Linked DNA regions of Homo sapiens: regions 2 and 3 are each linked to region 1. The links are contacts of gene promoters, found by promoter capture Hi-C in blood cells and fetal thymus (Javierre and others, 2016). All regions are on one chromosome and are shown on one strand. Each heading gives the region's core, a stretch centred on a gene start or on the middle of the fragment in contact. The rest is flanking DNA. Distances are from core to core; before and after follow the strand shown. Region 1 holds the start of MSN (moesin). Region 2 has its middle 6.8 kb from the start of MIR223HG. Region 3 overlaps VSIG4 (V-set and immunoglobulin domain containing 4).

Region 1 (4,428 bases), core at 1,808-4,307:
CTAGTCTCTGATAGTTTATGCTCTCTCTCTATTTCCCATCCTCTCCTCCCCAGAGGTCCAACCTCATCTTTCTCCCTCAGCCCCTTTCCCCCTATTTCTTAGCTCCCCGAGCCTCTGACACCCCCTGCCCCTGCTTGGACTTCTATGCCCCCTTTCTTTTTTTTTTTTTTTAAGACAGTGTTTTGCTCTGTCACCCTGGCTGGAGTGCAGTGGTATGATCTTTGCTCACTGCAGCCTCTGCCTTCTGGGTTCAAGTAATTCTCCTGCCTCAGCCTCTCGAGTAGCTGGGATTACAGGCACATGCCACCACACCCAGCTAATTTTTGTATTTTTAGTAGAGATGGGGTTTTCCCATGTTGGCCAGGCTGGTCTTGAACTCCTGACCTCGAGTGATCTGCCTGCCTCAGCCTCCCAAAGTGCTGGGATTACAGGTGTGAGCCACCACACCTGGTCCTTGTTTCCCTTTTAGTAGTGTCTTCAGCTACTTGACACTCTCTACCCAACTCTCCCCTGTGTATGTGTGTTGTGGGGAGTGGTTGGCATGGGAGGTGGGGAATGACACAAGGGAGTTTCCACTTTCCAGAAAGTTGGAGTCGCCAAGTAAATTCTTTGTCTTTAGGCATTTAGCTTCATGCCAGGTCCCTGTAGGTTCTAGGTGAACATGAGTGAAGAAATCAGTTGAGTTCCTTGAACATCTGGTGGAAAAGGGCCAATGGCAGTATTAAGGCGTGTGATGAGCTGTCATTGCTACTCCTGCTGCTGAGGCTTTCTGGTGAGTGCTGCTCTTCCTTGGGGACAACTGCTCATGGAGACTGTTTGGGCTTTCCGATGAGTGCTGCTCTTTGAACAAATGCTTAGCTCAAGGAAATGATCTTGGCAGGGAACTTTGTTTACCCTAGCACACATCAATGAATCTTGTTAGCAGTGAGAGAAACCGAGGCACACTGAATCGTGGACACTGTTGGTCTGGGAAGGCAAAGGAAGAGGATGGAATCAGACTACTGGTTCCTGAGTGCAAATGCAAGACCAGCCCATATGCAATCCTGTTAGGCTCATCTATTGTCCTAGGGAGTATACTTCCTTTCTCATCCCTTTATAATGTCAGAGTGGGAAAGGACCTTGGAAGCCCCGGAGTCCAGTCCTTTCTTGCTACAGAAATGGAAACTCAAGCCCAGAGAGGGGGAGGGAATTACCCAAGGCCACATAGTGGTCATAGGATGAGTTAATGGCAGAGCTATACGTAGAAGCCAGGTGTCCTGACCTCTCAAGTATCCTTTCCATTGTCTCAAACTGGCTTACCATCTGTGGTGCCTTACCTCACAAAGGATACTCAGACCATGCCTTCACATGGTTGCCAGTGGAGAGGAGGAAAAAAGGACTATGGCCAGCCACTTTCAAACTAAAACTCGGACTTATTTTATTTTACTTTTTTTGGAGACGGAGTCTTGTGCTATTGCCCAGGCTGGAGTGCAGTGGCCCAATCTGGGCTCAGTGCAGCCTCCGCCTCCCGGAAGCGATTCTCCTGCCTCATCCTCCCGAGTGCCTGGAACTACGTGCCATCACACCCGGCTAATTTTTTTGTTTTTTTTTTTCGCATTTTTAATAGAGATGAGGTTTCGCCATGTTGAGCAGGCTGGTCTCAAACTCTTGACCTCAAGTGATCTGCAGGTCTTGGCCTCCCAAAGTGGTAGGATTACAGGTGTAAGCCACTGCACATGGTCTCACTTACTATTATTATTATTATTTTTGAGACAGAGTTTCACTCTGTTGCCCTGGCTGGAGTGCACTGGCTCAGTCTTGACTCACTGTAACCTCCGCCTCCCGGGTTCAAGCGATTCTCCCTCCTCAGCCTCCCGAGTAGCTCGGATTACAGGCACGTGCCCGGCTAATTTTTGTAATTTTAGTAGAGACGGGGTTTCACCATGTTGGCCAGGCTGGTCTTGAACTCCTGACCTCAGGTGATCAGCCCGCCTCAGCCTCCCAAAGTGCTGGGATTACAGGAGTGAGCCACTATGCCCGGCTCTCACTTATTTTTTTTGTATAGATATGGGAGGGGGTCTTGATATGCTCCCCAGGCTGGTCTCGAATTCCTGGGCTCAAGCAATCCTCCTGCATCAGCCTCTCAAAGTGTTAAGATTACAGTCATGAGCCACCGCACTCAGCCTAAAACTCAGACTTGACCAGACGACTTCAACAGTCTAGAACACTGCCATCCTGGGATTCTGTGACCTTGACAAGAAGGAGAAAGGGAGCTGGCAGACAAACCCCAAGGGTGTGGACTAGGGAGGTCACATCTAACCTGAGGGAATTATAGCCAGCCCCATCAGGACATCAGAAAGTGAATGTACTGGGAGAGGGGCTAAAGGATCAGGTCACTGATTTGAGGAAGGTGAAGACTGGGATTTAGATGAAGGAAAGATAAATGAGGACTGAGCAAGGATGGGTAGGAAATATGATGGGGAGAGTCCTACGGAAGAGAATGGATGAAGTGTTTTAAGAGGTGAGGCAGTTTAGCCAAAAGAAGAGAAGTTTCCTGTGGACCTGAGATCTTCAGGCCTTTGAGGAGCTGTTAGGGACAACAGGGGATCTGTGTGGCCTCAGGGAGCAGAACTGAGATCCATGGATGGAAGCCATAGAGAAAAGGAGTTCAGACACGGCAAGAACTTTCTAAGAGCCAGAGCTGTCTAGAGAAGGAAAAGATAGGTAGTGAGCTCCCCATCAGTGGAAAGTTGCAGTCAGGGGCTGAGTAAGCATCTGTCAGGGCCCAGGGTCTGGGCCCTGAGTGGGGGTGGGGCTGGAAGGCCAGGACGTGGAAGGCTAGGGGCTGTGACCAGGGTGGGAGAGGAGCCGGGTGGGTCTGGGTGGGGAGTGGTAGCTACCCTAGGTCCGCCCGGGCCCAGCCGGGCCCCCCACGTGGCCGCTGTGGCCTGGCTGCGCCGGGCCTGGCCAGGCGGGGCTGGGCGGGGCAAGGCCAGCGGTCGGCGGGGAGGCGGGCGCGAGGGCGGGGAGCGGCGCGGAAGCCGGGCCACATAAAGGAGCGGGCGGCGCGACAGGGGCGGCTCTTTCCTGGGTGGGGTTTGTGAAGTCGTGGCCCGTTAGCAGGAAGCCTAACAGTCGCCCCGACGCTAGTGAGGGACCCAATCTGAGTCCCCGGCCAGCCGAATCCAAGCCGTGTGTACTGCGTGCTCAGCACTGCCCGACAGTCCTAGCTAAACTTCGCCAACTCCGCTGCCTTTGCCGCCACCATGCCCAAAACGGTGAGTGCCGGAGGTGGGCGCTGTCGACCCCAATGGCTCTGGCTGAGCCTCATAGCCCTTTGCTGATGGCTGAGGGCTTGGCCAGCCACCGGCCCGCCTGGGACGCCGCGCCCTCCGCCATAGCCAAGGGTAGGGAGGGGACCGGAGTGGGATCCTGGTCTGGTGCGCCCTCAGGGGTTGAGGGGGTGTCCAGGCTGGAAGTTTGGACGGGGCGAGGCCTGCCTCTTTCTCAGGTTCCAGTTCCCTGTGTCTGAGATGCAACAGTCAGGACGGCTTCGTTGGGGCCTGGGGTTTCCCCTTTTCCCTGATGGGCCATGGGCACAGAGGAGAGGATTCTGGTCCAGAAGACAACACTTTCCCCAACCCAGGAATTGGCACCTTTCTGGGGCAAGGCTGCCAATGTCCAAGAGGGGACATGGGAACAGAGAAGCAGGGAGAAAGGAGGGAGCCGCTCGGGGCGGATCCGGCACCCCCACTCATCTTTCCCACAGCCTCACCGGGTGGCTCCAGCTGTTTTCCACTAGGAGGTGAGGAGAGAGATGTGAGGAAATCGTCATCGAGGCTGCACCCGAGAGCACCAACACTTATTTAGGCACCAGTCTGAGGAGAGGCCTACCCCATCTCCTGGGAGAGAGGACCGGTTTCTCCCTCCTCTCCACCTCCAAATCCCTGCCCCTCCTATTGCTTAATGCCTCTCTATCTCCTCCTATCCCCTCCGGACTATTTTGTGTGGTGTGGGTTTTCTCGTGGGGCCACACCTTTCTAGAGTGGTGGTTGATTTGGGGATGCGTCTCCACCCCACTGGCTGTTACGAGAGGAACAGAAGCCTCCTGGGAGTGGGGATAGGGGGGCCGGATGCCCAGGAGGGAGAGGGGAGGAGGGGTGTGCCTGACTAATGAGCTCTGCTTGCTTTTGTGCAAGTCATGCCAAATGGCTGCTGAGGCCCTTCCCTTGCTCAGAAAGGCCTGGTGACCACCCTGGCTTGAGTCCCTTAGGCCAAACAGCTTGTTGAGCTGGCCTAGGCAATGCAGTGCTCCCAAACATGTCTCCCCAGGACTGCTTGAGCCTTGTAGAGGTGAGATAGTGACTAGTAGCCTTGAAAAGGGCTGAAGGTCCCCTGGGATGAGAGGAGGAGAGTTGGGGGCCCAGCCTTTTGGGTTTGTGATGAGCT
Region 2 (4,527 bases), core at 1-2,500, 340 kb after region 1:
GATTATATCTACTTTGTACCAATAAGTGCACCAGCAGGTCGCCCTACAAATCCCAAGGGGACTCAGATTCAGGTTCAGGTCCAGTCTCAAAGAAACCTTCATTGAGGGCCACCCATGGAGGTCCAAAACAGGTCAAAAGAAATCCCTAGACAAATGAGAAAATTCATCCCTCACAGTTGTATTATCACTTTGCAGTTTAGAAAGCTTTTTTCACATGTTAGGTGAGTATATATATATATATATATATATATATGTATATATATATATATATATGTATATATATATATAATATAAATAATGTTTATAATATCACTATAAATTATAGTATATAGTGATATATATATTATATATTACATAGTATCACTATGTTATGTACAACAAATAATCATATTCATTATAATAATGAAAAATTAGGTAACTAGTAATATAAATATAGTATAATTAATATTAATATTATGTATGTACACATATATACAAGGCCTGAGAACTTTACTTAGTCTAGATCATTCTTTAGGTCTTAAATATTTTTTGAAGAAAGTCTTCCCTAAACTCTCATACCAGATTAGGTTTACTATTATTTGCTCTTATAATACTCTATATTTATCCTGTATAATACTTATATTTTCATCCTGACATACTTTGGCAAGTGCCTGTGTCCCTCATTTGAATATGAGTTCCAGGAAGGCAGGGCCTTGGTCAGTCTTGCTATCTTTGACACCCTTGTTACCTAGACCACTTGACCAATCTGTGAATGGGAGAGAGAAGAGGGCCCTTCAAAGACCATACAGTTCACCCTATTTAGAAATGGAGAGTGAGGGAGTGATATAGTTTGGATATGTGTCCCCACCCAAATCTCATGTTGAAATGTAATCCCCAATGTTGGAGGTGGGGCCTGGTGGGACATAATTGGATCATGGGGGTGGTTTCTCATGAATGGTTTAACTCCATCCCCCTTGGTACTGTTGTTGCAAAAGTGATTAAGTTCTCATGAGATCTGGTTGTTTAAAAGTGTGTAACACCTCCCTCCTTTCTCCTTGATCTCTCTTACCATGTGATGTGCCTGCACCCCTTTGTCTTCCACCATGGGAAGCTTCCTGAGGCCTCCCCAGAAGCAGATGCTGCTATGCTTCCTGTACAGCCTGCAGAACTATGTGCCAATTAAACTTTTTAAAAATATATAAATTGCCCAGTCTCAGGTATTTCTTTACAGCAATATGAGAATGAACTGATACAGGGAGACCAATACCCAGAGCAAAAAGAAAACTTCCCAAGGTCATGTTATAAGCCATGACACAGCTGGGCCTGGAACTCAGGTCTCCTGACACTCTGCCTAGAGCTATTTTCAATGAACCTTCAAACCTGATGGCTTCCAGGAACCAGGTCATCAGGAACCAGAGTCCAAGGAAGGTCAAAGCTTTCAGTATTCAGATATTACCTCATTTTCTGGTCTTGCAGAACAGGAAGATTTTTTTTTCATGAACAAATATTTGCTGAGAACCTACTATTATAAACAAGACAGCTCTAGCACTAGGGATATAGTTAAGAATAAAATAAAATAACTACCCTCATGGAGCTTACACTCTAGTAGGGGACATAAACAATAAACAAAACTATAACATGGTAGAAGCAAAGTCAAAAGGCAAATGACAAACTAGTGGAAATAATTACAATTCTCATTACATACAAAGGAAAAATTTCTCTAACATACAAAGTACACCCAAAATCAATTAAGAAAAAGAAATCAGCAGTCTAATTGAAAACTGGGTATGACAGACATGGTTCCTGCTCTCATGGAGTTTGCAATTGAGTGGAATAAACCCCTTTTTTCTTTAAGGCTACGGGAAACAGCTAGGCAGCAGGGTTTGAGGGGGCCAAAGGATATGGTGAGTCATTGAGTAGCCTCTCTTATGCCATCTTAGCAATAAACTTCTTAATTTTAGAATTTGGAATTCTAAATTCTGACAAAATTATAAATCTCAGCTTTGCCACTTACTAAATATGTGACGTTGAAGGAAGTTGCTTAATTTCTTCATGCTTCAATGCCTACATTTGCGAAATAGAAATGATTCCTATTTTATAAGGTTATTGAGAGTAATAAGTGATATAATAGAGAGTGAGAGTAGGTGGTACATAATAAGTACTCAACAAAAGTGTTTTTCTTCCAATTCCCACTTCCTATTTTATAAGGTTATTGAGAGTAATAAGTGATGTAATAGAGAGTGAGAGTAGGTGGTACATAATAAGTACTCAACAAAAGTGTTTTTCTTCCAATTCCCACTTCCTATTCTGCCTAGAACCGATAATAGAAGGCAGTGTCCCTTCTGATGCCAATATGAAGCTTTTCTGCTTCTTACCTTGCATTATCTGGCCTTTACAGGAGCTCTCAGGATTCCACTTTGTAACCCCATGAGGTATCAATTTTTTAGGGATTGACTGATTCCTGAATCAGTGCCAAATCTAGTTCTAGCAAATGTTTAGCTGTGGTGAAAGCTCAAGGGTCTGTTCTAAATTTTCTTTTTGTTTCCCAAAAGGCACAATTCTTGCCCTTCCTTTACTCAGAAGACAAACTAAGAAGATGAAAATAGTCTGTGTGTGCCAAGTCAATGATATCACGGGCAACTACCCCAGTCTGAATTAGGAAATATCTCTATACTGATATATAGATACATACAGATATATAGATATATTCATTTAATTTTTTATTGTAAATTTATAATTGTATTTGTGGGATACAAAGTGATGTTATGATTTATGAATACAATGTGGAGTAATTAAATTTAATATATCCATTGTCTCAAATACTTATAATTTGTTGAATAATTTGAAATGTACTCTCTTAGCAATTCTGAAACATGCAATATACTATTATTAACTGTATTCACCATGCTGTGCAATAGATCTCAAAAAAACCCTATTCCTTCTGTCTGAAACTTTGTACCCTTTGAAAATTATCTCCCCATTCCACCCACCCCCAAGCCTCTGTAACCGTCATTCTACTCTCCGCTTCTATAACTTTCATTATCTTAGAATCCACCTGTAAGTGAGATTATGTGGCATTTGTCTTCCTGTGCCTGGCTTATTTCACTTCACGTAATCTCCAATTCCATTTATGTTGTTGAAAATGACAGAATTTCCTCTTATTTATTTATTTTTTGAGACAAGGTTTTCCTCTGTTGCCTAGGCTGGAGTGCAGTGGCTATTCACAGGTGACCATAGTGCACTACAGCCTTGAACTCCTGGGCTCAAGTGATCCTCCTGCTTCAGCCTCCCCAGTAGCTGGGACTACAGGTGTGATGTGAATAGTGGGAGTGAGAGACAGACTAGAGTGAGAATATATATTTTAAATAAATACATGTTTGTTCCTTCCAAATATACTATTTACAATAGGCTATTGAAAGTTGATTCCTCATTCATTTCTTCATTGTCCATTTAAAATTTTTCCCAAGGGAGTGTATATTTAGGGCAACTCGAATCTATGCTCCTGAGTTGCAGCTCTCAAGCTTGGCCCAGATAAACTCTTTACTCATTTTAAGAAAAAAACAAACAAACAAAACAAAAACAGCTACTGCTTAGTAAAAACCTTTAGGTGGGCCATTATAGGAAATAGATTAAAATGGTTGATTAGGGTCACTTCAGTTATTTCTGCCATAGATGGAAGGTTCTGAAGGACTCTAAGTGGGAGTGAGGTATGGGTAGTAAGTAGAACCAGTTTGGTTTTCTGTCTTTAAACAACTCCCTGGAACTCCTATTTTATTTACTTCATTTATTTTGTCTTTCTAAGAAGCTAAACAAAAGCTTCAGCTCAGACTTATCTAACAATCATAAATTGGAAATTAATGAGGTTTTCTTGGAAAAAACTGCCCTTAAAGACTGAGATGATAACTGACTTGAATTTGACATTTTCCAGCCAGAGACATATTGTATATTTTTTTGTAGATTGCTCCAAAATTTCTACCTTTCATAAATTGTTGCATGATATTTATATCCTACATCTGCCATTTAATAGGTAATTATAGTATCTCCCTCATAAGGTTGTTGTTAGGATTACATAAACTAACATATGTAAAGGGCTTCAAACAGTGCCTGGCACTTAGTAAGCTCACAATACTTGTTAATTATTGTTATTCCAGTACAAAATGGATCTCCTGATAGGTCGAACCTCTTTGCCAGGTTTCCTCCAGAGCACATTTGGTGTGTTGGATAGGCCTTTGGGCTACTATTATTCTACGATATCTATAGATACTTAAAAATGCTCTCAGGCTTATATTTGCCATTTTGTATCGGTAGTCTCCCTATTCACACAAGCTCACCATATTCTTTCCTATCTCTGCACCTTTACTTGGGTTCTTTCCTCTGCCTGAAATGCCTTTCTCTGATTATTGATCCTGTTATCCTTCAAGGCTCTTTTAAAATTCGGCCTCTTCTGTGAAGTCTCTAATCCAACCAGTTGAAATTAACTTTTTTTTCCTGTTTGTTGCCATAGTCTGGACCCCTAAAATCCTAGGCTTGAATATAGAAGGGCACTGC
Region 3 (4,924 bases), core at 1,375-3,874, 360 kb after region 1:
TCACCTTCCCTTAGAAAAAAGAAAATAATATCCTGACTTTCCAGCTTCACCAAAAATGCTACATACCTTATTAAGATTCTGGTCAGTTACTTCTAGCCACAAAGATTCTTCCCATCACACGCTCTGGTCAAGTCCCCAGCTTCCTTCTTTCTCAAAACATATTTCCACTGAGCCACTTGAGACACATATTCCCATTATGCCTAAAAGCTGAAAGAATCAACTGGACTTGGCTTCCAGTCCTAGATCTGTTATTTACTTTCTGTATGACTATGGTAGGCAGAATAATGGTCCTCTAAAGATATTCACATCCAAATTCCTGGAACCTGTCAGTATGTTAGTTTACATAGTAAAAAGGAACAGAGATTTGAGAATGCTACATTGTTAGTTTTGAAAATGGAGGAAGGGGGCCATGAGCCAAAGAACGTGGGTAGCTTCTAGAAGCCAGAAAAGAAAGACAAGGAAATTAATTCTTCTCCAAACCCTCCAAAGGGAACATAGCCTTGCTGACTGACATTTTGATTTTAGCTCAGTGATAATTGTGTCAGACTTATTTCCAGAAGTGGAAGATAATATATTTATGCTGTTTTAAGATACTAGGTTTGGGGTAAGTTTTTACAGCAGCCATGGAAAAATGAATACAGTGACCTTAGACAAAACTTTGACTGTCACTAGGCCTTAGTTACCCCATAAGTTCAATGAAAAGATTGGATGATGTCTAAAGCACTTTTAGCTATAATATTCTGAATCTAAGATGCTAGGTCAGGGGGGATAGAGAGGCGTGAGGAAAGGAACCTCAGTGTACTTAGGATTTGTTGCTGCAACTGGCTTGTTTTCATGAGACTCTAAGATATCGTGTCCTAGGAATCCAGTATTTGTGGTCCTCAGAGTGTCTTGTTGGGACTGAGAGAGCTCAAGTTATAAGCTGGTACAAATCGAAGAAATATTCTCTTTTGAAGAGAGTCAAGTACTAAAAAACTTGGTAGAGAAAATAGGGCGCAGACCCAACATCTAATAACTTTGCCCAAGGTTATTTTCTCATTTTTCCAAACCAACTCCCTATGAGGCAATTTCTAACTTCTCTTCTCCCAGTAGATGTTCTTCTCGGAGAGGAACGGAGCTATGGAAATCTTGAAGCCAAAGATGGCAATGCAAATGTGGAACATAAAACAGGTTTGAGTGCTGCCAAGGGATAGCCAAAAAACTCTGCAATCAGGAATGGAGAGTTACAAAGAGCATTTGGAAGTCCACTCTCTCAATTATACACAGGCAGAGAATGAGTACCAGGAGTGATAGTTATCAAACTATTTAATTCCAACCAGTCACAACAGATGCCTACTGTAGACTTGGAGTCTTAGAGATTCCTTGGTATACCTTTTGTTGCATGACCATGGGGGTGGTCTAGAGAGTTCTGAGGAATGGGACAAGGCAGCCCCAGGTAATAATGGAGGGCTCAGGGGTTAAGGGGAGCAGCTAATTATCAATTGGTGTGAGAGTGTTCTATTATTTCAACAGTCAATGTAGTCATGTGAAGGCATACCAACTGACTATCAGATGCAGGTGAAACACAAAAGATTTATTTGGGATTTGAATCTCTGAGACCCTGACTTGGGAATTTTCAAGGCTTTGGAGGAATCAGAAATCAGCTTCAAGCGGCTTGAAGAGCCCTGGTTAAGAGCTCAAGCAATGACACTCAGCCATTATCCTTACCTGGTTGAGGTCATGATGTCATAATGTCCCTATCCATATTCTTGCTCAGAATGTTTGGAAAGCATATTACTATGACAACAGAGAACTAAATAAAGGGCACATTTATCACTCCCCTTAACCTCACTCTGACTTTGCTCATCTCTGGATCTGTATCTCTCTCTCTACATCCTACCCACTTTACCCATCCTCAGTGCCCTTGACCATTGCTTGGCACATAGCAGGTAATGATTTGCAGATTTCAATGCTGTAGAACAGTGTGCATAAGGGAAAGTTTTGGTCACAAAGCTTAGAGTCAAGAAGAAAAGATAGAAATCCTGACAATATTCCTACCTGGCCCAGCACTGGTCTCTCCAAGGTAGCCATCCATGTCAGTGGTCCAGTCCCAGGACTGCTTCACTGTAGATGTTGCTATGAATATAGAGAATAGGGTCAGAGATGTCTCTCTTCTTTCAAAAAGTTGAGAGATAGGAGATGGTTGCAAAGGTTGGAGTCCTTCCCTGGCCATTTGTGCTGTACTTTCCAGGGTACCTGACCATGTTATCAACCACTAGTACCATGAGATAAGGCATCTTCATTTCTTACTGTTAGGTGTGGGCAGTGAGAAGAATTCCCATCGAGGGGAGGTAATGTACCCAAAGTCACACAGCAAGTCAAACTAGGAGCAGAATAGAATTTAGTGTTCTTGTTTTTTGTATTTCCAATGGGAGTAATTCTAACCCTCTCTTTCCTTTTGCCTCAGAAGTTTTCACAAAAAAAGAGTATATATTCATCATTGTTACCTTTCTTTTGTTTCCATTCCTTTACTGCTATGTTCTCTCTGAGGAACCAAGTGACTGTTTATTAGCCATTCCATGGCATTGTGATTCCTTTCTTGGCTACGATGACACCATTTTGAACCTCTACTACTTCCTCAGACTCTAGCAAAACTCACCTTTCAAGGGGTATGTCATGGTTGTAGGTGCCTCAGTCTTGGTCTTGAGTAGCTTTGAGGAGTCTGCAAGGAAAAGGGAACCGATTGAAGGGACCTGGTACCCTTTGGTGAATAGTTTAATGCCCTAGGGAAATAGGAAGTAAGTAAAGGCCATTCAGGTCCATACTTGGACCTGCCTCAACACTTCTGTCATGATGCTGGTAAGTCCTGTGTTGCTTGTTCATCTTTCATACATCAATCAAGGACAGAGTTTTTAACCCAGGATTAATAGATCTCGAAGGAACCTGTAGCTAGAGTTCAGAGAGTCAGTCAACTTGGATGGGAAAATATATTTTATTTTTACTAACTTCTAACTGAGACCTAGTAATTAATTCTCTTGAGAGAAACTTGGGAAGTATCATAAAGAAAGTGGCAATGGGTGACATCAGTGAAAATGGTGACATAATAACCTCCAGAAATTTACCCTTTAACAACATCAGTGAAATAATGCAAAATTTGACGTAATCAACTTTTTTTTTTTTTTTTTTTTTTTTTTAGAATTTTGCAAAATAGCCAAAGGTTTGCAGCACCTTAGACAGGATTTATGGAAGAAAAATATCCCAGTTTTGGTAAGAACAGCAAGCTTTGTGCTGTTTTAACTTCTCCTAGTCCCCTTACCCCTTCTACCTCAGAGGTAATCTTGAACATACAACCCCATTCCAGGTGCTGGAGTGAGCCCAACAAACTTCATTTTTGAATAATTGCCATTATTTGGCCTGTCTGGTGGTTCCCTGAAAGACCTGACTCAAAAGACTTGTTTTATTGGTCACCCAGTGCTAAGAGCCTCTCCCCAGGGATGGGGTAGCATTTGTCACACAGCTGCCTGAGGCAATGGATAATAGGCGAGAAAACAAAAAAAACTAACCAAAATAGCCTTAAAAATGGTTGAGGAATAAGATTTCCATAGGGATTTTGAAGAGTTCTGACACAGTTCTGGGAAACTAGGAGGCCACACACAAGCACAGGGCCATGTACCTGCTCAGAAAAGACATGAGAAAACCATAAGCTTCTCCCTCTTGCTAGCAGAGGAAACAGCATGCTCCGTTTTAGATGTGGCGAAACATATTAGTAGATAAGTCTGGATAGGTAGGCTGAAAACAGACTAAAAGGGTTTGGGCTTTGTTCTTTAGTTGGAAAGATCCATGGGGTGTAACAGAAGGTTACACCTTTTGAGAAAGGTTTACTTCCTTTTGAGAAAGGAAGCAAAAATTGTTCAGTCTATTTTTTTTGGAAATAATTCTGACAACAGTGTGGTAGGATTTTCAAAGGTAAGGCAATAGCATATTTTCCCCATTCATTAACAAATACAGTATTCATCTAGTGTCTAGTGTCTTCTTTGTGCCAGATACTTTGCTGGGCTCTGAAAAACAGCAATGAAGTAGACAGGTAGAATTCTGCACTCTTGAATTTTATAATCTAGTGACATAAAATATATACTCAATAAATATTGAATAAGTTGATGACTTCGTAAGAATGTATGAACATGGGGAGAACATTTAGAAGATGATTGAAATTGTTTTTTAAAAAAGAATATGAGACCATGAGGGTATAGGAAGAGAAAGAAAGAGCCTAATAAGGTATCTGATTCAGTAGGTGAATTCACAGCACTTGGTAATATTGATGATTATTTGACGATGCGAGGTAAAAGAGAAGGAGGAGTCAAAGGTACTGCTATGTTTTCTAACAGGTTTGAGGAACAGGTTTGGTGAGTAAAAGGTACGATCAGTTTTGAACACGCTGAAATTAGAAATGAAGCTGTCCAGAAGGTAACTAGACACTGGGATCTAGCAGTCAGGAAAAAATAAATACAGATAATATTATGGTTGGAGAGTCATCAGACTACAGGTGATATTTGAAGCCACAGAAGTAAATAAAATCTCCTGATAATATAGAAATACATGCAGAGATGAATAAGAATTGAGTCTTTGAGAACATTTACAATTAAGGAGTGAATGAAAAAAGAGCCAACAAAGGTGTCTCAGAAGGATCATTCAGGAAGGTCTTAGAAGAACCAAGATAAGTTGGTGTCATCAATAGCAGTGATTAAAAGAATATTGAGGTGGAAGAAATGGCCAACAGGATCCACTGCTACACAGATGTTGAGGAGGAAAAGTATGAATGGAGAGGTCTTGGGATTTGGTGATATGGAGGTTAATGATGACCCCAAATTACAAAGTTATGTTGTGGTGAATGAATTGAGAGGTTCAGCTGGTGGAAGCTACCTTCGTGAGAAGGTTGGTAGTGAAC

What was found. The method cuts DNA at HindIII sites, captures the fragments that hold promoters and counts their contacts. A CHiCAGO score of 5 or more calls a contact.
Region 2: a fragment that was not itself captured here is called in contact with the fragment with the promoter of MSN in region 1 in 2 of 17 cell types (non-activated CD4 T cells and M0 macrophages); the score reaches 6.4 in non-activated CD4 T cells.
Region 3: a fragment that was not itself captured here is called in contact with the fragment with the promoter of MSN in region 1 in 2 of 17 cell types (neutrophils and non-activated CD4 T cells); the score reaches 6.0 in neutrophils.

Annotation. Positions count from the first base shown.
Region 1 is chrX:65,664,597-65,669,024 of GRCh38, forward strand. MSN (moesin) reads left to right here and starts at 3,058. Exons shown (of 13, transcript NM_002444.3): 1 at 3,058-3,257. The coding sequence starts at 3,246. RefSeq lists a silencer at 2,750-3,079. The HindIII fragment of the contact is 6,503 bases long and covers 1-4,428 here.
Region 2 is chrX:66,006,414-66,010,940 of GRCh38, forward strand. No RefSeq gene overlaps it. Among named protein-coding and RNA genes, the nearest start is that of MIR223HG, 6.8 kb to the right of the region's middle. The HindIII fragment of the contact is 324 bases long and covers 1,089-1,412 here.
Region 3 is chrX:66,025,412-66,030,335 of GRCh38, forward strand. It overlaps VSIG4 (V-set and immunoglobulin domain containing 4), which reads right to left. Exons shown (of 8, transcript NM_007268.3): 4 at 2,639-2,701; 5 at 2,038-2,115. Among named protein-coding and RNA genes, the nearest start is that of MIR223, 9.0 kb to the left of the region's middle. The HindIII fragment of the contact is 1,268 bases long and covers 1,991-3,258 here.